2 separate regions of the Homo sapiens genome follow, and region 1 is linked to region 2. Evidence: promoter capture Hi-C in 16 types of primary human blood cells and fetal thymus (Javierre and others, 2016). All regions are on one chromosome and are shown on one strand. The core of a region is centred on a gene start or on the middle of the fragment in contact, and the rest is flanking DNA. Distances in the headings are between cores, read along the strand shown. Region 1 overlaps SLC7A8 (solute carrier family 7 member 8). Region 2 holds the start of MDP1 (magnesium dependent phosphatase 1).

What was found. Contacts are between HindIII fragments. The CHiCAGO score rates a contact against its expected background, and 5 or more counts as called.
Region 1: a fragment that was not itself captured here is called in contact with the fragment with the promoter of MDP1 in region 2 in 1 of 17 cell types (M0 macrophages); the score reaches 5.5 in M0 macrophages.

What each region holds. Positions count from the first base shown.
Region 1 is chr14:23,161,923-23,164,622 of GRCh38, forward strand. The region is part of intron 3 of SLC7A8 (solute carrier family 7 member 8); the gene reads right to left. Among named protein-coding and RNA genes, the nearest start is that of SLC7A8, 20 kb to the right of the region's middle. The HindIII fragment of the contact is 1,337 bases long and covers 583-1,919 here.
Region 2 is chr14:24,214,619-24,217,318 of GRCh38, forward strand. MDP1 (magnesium dependent phosphatase 1) reads right to left here and starts at 1,448. Exons shown (of 6, transcript NM_138476.4): 1 at 1,301-1,448; 2 at 1,119-1,179; 3 at 934-1,044. The coding sequence starts at 1,337. NEDD8-MDP1 (NEDD8-MDP1 readthrough) reads right to left here. Exons shown (of 7, transcript NM_001199823.3): 4 at 934-1,044. It overlaps NEDD8 (NEDD8 ubiquitin like modifier), which reads right to left. Exons shown (of 4, transcript NM_006156.3): 4 at 2,239-2,605. The coding sequence ends at 2,509. RefSeq lists enhancers at 174-912, 1,325-1,494. The HindIII fragment of the contact is 6,893 bases long and covers 1-2,700 here.

The DNA of each region.
Region 1 (2,700 bases), core at 1-2,500, 1.1 Mb before region 2:
TCTAAAAAAAAAAAAAAAAAAAGCATCTACCAAGCCTTCCTGACAGCTTGGTTCTTGTTTTACTGAATACCGTATGAGAGGATTGGATGCTTATCTGGTATGGCCTGCCATAAAATTCAAAAAAAGAAGAGAGGATTTGAGGGGCCTATAGAAGTGGATTAAAAAAAAAAAGTATTCAACAAACCGGAAAACAGAACCTCTGTACACAGACTCAAAGCAGCTGGGAGTGTCAGGTATAAGGAAAGGGAGAGAGGAAGTTTGTTATAGCTAATGCATGTACGTGTGCACCCTGCCGGGCAGAGGGATGGCAGCTCCACATGGCCTTCACAGCTAGGAGGAAAGGGACACTGCAGCGGGACAGGTGTGGAGCTGGTTTCCATTTCCCCTAAAGGAAATAAGGAAGACTACGCTTGGGAATAAGAAGGATTTAAGATTTTTCTGCTTATGAAGGTAGACAAATATTTGAACCCATATTTCAAGGACATTGAAAATTCCTGTCTTTAGAGGACAAGATTGGCTACTGTTAAGTTGGAGATAATTTCCTTGCAGTTCTGCTGAGAAGGCAGAGGCCAAACTTAGATAAGCTTTATTGAATCTTTGACTACAGGAATAGAGGAGGGGGGTCTTGTCATTTTTGTCATCAGCCAGTTTCTAAATTTCTCCTTGGCTTGGTCCTTGCAGTGTCTAGGTGAGGGGAAGGCTGTGGAGAGGACTGTGCAACATGTCATTCTGGAGCAGGGCTACAGGCAGGTGGCGTTCTTATCTCCTAGGAGAGTTTGGACCTTTCTGGTCCGAGGGGACGCCAAAAAGGCTACACTACTTTGGAGGGTCTTTGTGCAAGAGGTCAAACCCTTGGCAGATTTGGGGAATGCAAAGAAAGCCATGGGGTCTGGCTGCCTGGGAACTTCTTCAACCTGTGGCCTGGCTCCTCTCCTAGGGTGCAAACTGAACAGCCTCGGGGGTTCTTGATTTCTAGTAGAAGGGTAAGGGTGGCCTCTTGTCTGAGACACTTTAGCAGCATCAGCAGGAAAAAGGAAGCTGTCTGTGTGCAAAGAAACACCAAAACAGCAGTAGCTAGCACTTCTGTGGCCTTGCCTCCCACCCTCCCATTAGCTGATCTGATGGCAGAAACAGCACTCTTCCTGCATTCCCACGCCCTCGCTCTTCCCCGCTCCCCATCTCAACTCTGGATCCAGCTAGGATGCAAGGATAAAGTGGCCCCAGCATCTTGCCCACCCCCAGTGACTGATATGACTGGGGTGCTGGGTGTCTAACACTGTGCTGAGGGTGTCCCCTTCCTTCTCTCTTGCAGTCCTTGTGACCACGACCTCTTGAGGCAGCTAGGATTACACTCCCCATCTCACAGTAGGGTGGACGAGTGATTTTGCCCAGCACTCACCACTGCAGTTAGAAATGGTGGACTGGAGATGCAGGCGCAGGCAGCCTGGTTTTGGAGCCTGCATTCCTCTGCCTCCAGATCTGTGAGCAGGCCTGATCAAACACAAGGAATACACCCCCAAACAAATGTCTTGGCCCCATATTGCAAATGGCCTGGGTGGTGGAGGTCTGTCCCAGGGTTGACCAGCACTGCCAAAGAGGGCTCACTTGCCAAGGAGACCGCCTCTTGGGTCCCAGCTGCCTGCCCTGTAAGAGGCTACTGAGGTGGGTGAGTGATCTCTTCCTCCCCCATCCCGTAACAGGACAGAAGGAAAAGTGTCAGGACCTGGGAAAGCATATGGCCAGGATGATCACTGCCCTCAGCTAAGTGTATGTGTGTTAGAAGCTATGGGAAGGCAGGGACCCAGTGAACCCTAGAGGTGGAGCCCCTGAAACATATCTAAGTATTTACTTTAGAAATTAGTTTTTGATTAAAGATGTAAAATACCCCAATCCATTGAGATGACTAATATCAGAGATAAAGCTTTGAGACTTCCTAGAAATACGGCTCTGCAGAACTTCTCTAGGAAGCCTCTCTAACCTATTCCAGCCCACAGAGATCTTTTCCCCTTCTCTGAATTTTATTGTTATTGTTGTTTTTAATTTCTTTTTTTTTTTTAGAGACAGGATCTCACTATGTTGCCCAGGCTGGAGTGCAGTGGCTATTCATAGGTGTAATCATAGCTCACTGTGGCCCAGAACTCCCAGGGTCAATCGACCCTCCTACCTCAGCCTCCCAGGTAGCTGGAACTACAGGTGTACACCACCATGCCTAGCTCCCTTCTCTGAATTTTTACTGCAATTGAATCCTAACCACAGTATCTGTCTATATGGCTTTTCTCCTAGTTAGAAAACTCATCAAGGGCAGGGATCATGGACAAACCCTTCTCCAAGAGAGTTAAAAGAGTGTGACTTGACAAGTTGAGGTAGAAGTAGATGTGGACCTACTGCCAAGAAGCCAGAGTAATCTTCCTAGGAGCAGCTGGGAGTAGCCAGCACAGTGCAGTGCACTGGACAGACAAGAAATCAGGAGCCCTTGCACTCCACGTGGCCTGCCTCCCTGGGCAAGTCATTTGCCTGGCTCTCTGTTTCCTTATCTGTTCTGGGAAAATGTTAACACTGGCCCAGCTTACCTCATGGACTTGTCATTAGGCCCAAATCAGATAATATAGGTGAAAGTGCTTTGCGTAATGTCAAGAACCCTGCCAGTGAAAATCATAGTGCCTCCAAGGAGCTACTTAAGTTTCTTTCTTTTTTTTTTTT
Region 2 (2,700 bases), core at 198-2,697:
ATGGGATTAGCAAAGTGAAGGGCCAGGGCTACGTTAACTTATTAAGCAAAGTTAGTAAGTATAACCAGGGAAATCAACTTGCTGTTTTTCCGGGATGGACAGGCATCCTCAGCCTCTGTTTAACTCCATTGCCTTCCTATTTGACACAATTGGTGCTGGGCCAATGTTTTAGCTTTTGTTTTGAGACAGGGTCTAGCTCTGTTGCCCAGACTGGAGTGCAGCGACCCAATCACGGCTCACTGTGGTCACGACCTCCTGGGCTCAAGTGATCCTCCCACCTCAGCCTCCCAAGTAGCTGGGACTACAGGTGCACGCCACTACAATTTTTTTTTTTTTTTTGGTAGAGATAGGGTCTCCCTCTATTGCCTAGGCTGGTCTCAAATTCCTGGGCTCAAGTGATCCTCCCACCTAGGCCTCCCAAAATGCTAAGATTACAGGTGTGAGTCACTGTGTCTGGCCCCACTTTTTTTTTTTTTTTTTTTTTTGAGACATTGTCTCACTCTGTCACCCAGGCTGAAGTGCAGTGGCTCCATCTCAGCTCACTGCAACCTCCGCCTCCCGGGTTCAAGCGATTCTCCTGCCTCAGCCTCCCGAGTAGCTAGGATTACAGGTGCGTGCCACCACGCCCTGCTAATTTTTGTATTTTTAGTAGAGACGGGGTTTCACCATGTTGATCAGGCTGGTCTTGAACTCCCGATCTCGTGATCCACCCGCCTCGGCCTCCCAAAGTGCTGGGATTACAGACGTGAGCCACCGCGCCCGCCTGCTGGCCCCACTTTTTAATAGTTAAAAGGCACAGGAGAGCGTTCAAGGGAAAAAATATGTAAATACTTGGAAACTTGCACCGCCCCTATTTTTGTAGACCAGGGGTTTCACTGTCTCTTGCATGCACCCTTCAGCATTACACTGTCAGTTGTCAGTCGCTCTTCTTACCTTGAAGCAGCCGCACCGGGCACCCCAAGGCTCTGCAATCGTTTTAGGACCTCAGGCACCTCTGGGTACAGTCGGACGTCTTGGCCCCGCCTATCTCGTACAGTTCCATCACTGGAGAGGGCAAGAGTGCGCTCAGCCCTGGCTGGGTCCTATCTCGCCCCCAGTCTTCCCTGTCCCTACCTCACCTGCTCTTATGGAACGGAGGGTCTACGTGCGTGTCGACCCAGAAAGGCCAGAGAGTGTAATCTGCGAGAGGAAGGAGAGGGAAGGTTCAGCCTGGGGCGGGAGATGCAGGGATTCGGGAGCTGCTGTTAGGGATGTGGAAAAGGAGAGCACCTTACGAAATTCTCCCCTTCCCGTCCCTCACCCAAATCAAAGACTGCCAGCTTCGGTAGCCGCGCCATGACCCGCACCGCAGGCTGCGCGCAGCAGAGGTGGGGCTTCACCCGGGGCCTTAGAGAGTGCGGAACCTCCGGCAGCTAAGGCAGCCACCCTGCCTGCCATAGACAAATGGCGACTAGAGCGTCGCCACTCGGGGCGTCATCAGCCTGGAGATGGCGCAAGAGTGCCATCTGATGCTGGGCGGGGAAGAGGATTGCAGCGAGGTACCAACACGACCACACATGCAACCACAGCAGTCAAGTCTTTCTAAGGCATTGGCCACGGGCATCCTCCCTACTTCTCCACTCCACCCAGCCTTGCCCGATTCTATTATACTAAGAAGCCAGGGAAGAAGGAAAGCCTTTTCTTCTAGCACCTGCCTCTTCTTGAGACCCAAGTGATACATCACAGCTTGTCACTCAATCTTTCTGCATTATCAACCTCCTGACAGTGTAGAACCCAAAGTCCTCAGTAATATTCCAGCCATAGAGTACAGTGTCAGCCAAACCCTTGAAGGCGTTCTCCAACCAGGCCTAAATGTCCAGTACAGCCACAGTCAAGAGAGAATTCACTCTCCGAAGGTTTCACCATCCATGTCAGCACTACACTGGTAGATGTATAACAACCAGTTTGTGGGGAGGAACTGATCTGTAGTGTTTGCTAGTTTCTGTAAATAATCCTACCATGGCCAATTTCAAGCTACCAACATGAAGTCACTTAATAGAGTTGGAAAAAGGTGCCAATAATTGGCTCTCATTAGCCACTAGGAACTGGTTCCAACACACCACTAAGTAGGTTTTCCTAGAGTCTGATAATCCCCGTAAGAGCACCATTCCTTCCACTGTCCGATTCCTTCAGCCTGCTATAACTGAGTGAGCATTAGGTCCATTTTTATTTCAGTCAACTTGTGCAACAGAAGAAAGATTCCAGGAGGCCAGGAAATATTTTATTGACAACCAGGGACACAGTCATAAGAGAGGGAAGCACACAGGACTGCAAACTAACACCCAGTAGCCAGCAAGGGCCCTCTGGGCCAGGAATACTGAATCCTGGGATCCTCACAGTCTCCCACCAGTAGACATACATTACTGGGCATCCAGGGGAGGGGGCAGTGGCTATGGTGTCCCAGAGAGTGAGAGGATATATGATGCCTCATTATGAGCGACAGGGTAAAGAGGTAAAATGGAGGGTCCATCACTGCCTAAGACCACCTCCTCCTCTCAGAGCCAACACCAGGTGAAGGACTGAACCACCTAAAATCTTGTAATCAGCTGCTGTCTTCTCATCATTCCTGCAGGAAAAGGAAGCCAGAAAAAAAAGAAAAAGAAGACTTAGGAGTTTTTTGTTGTTGTTGTTGTTGTTGTTGTTGTTGTTTTTGACAGAGTC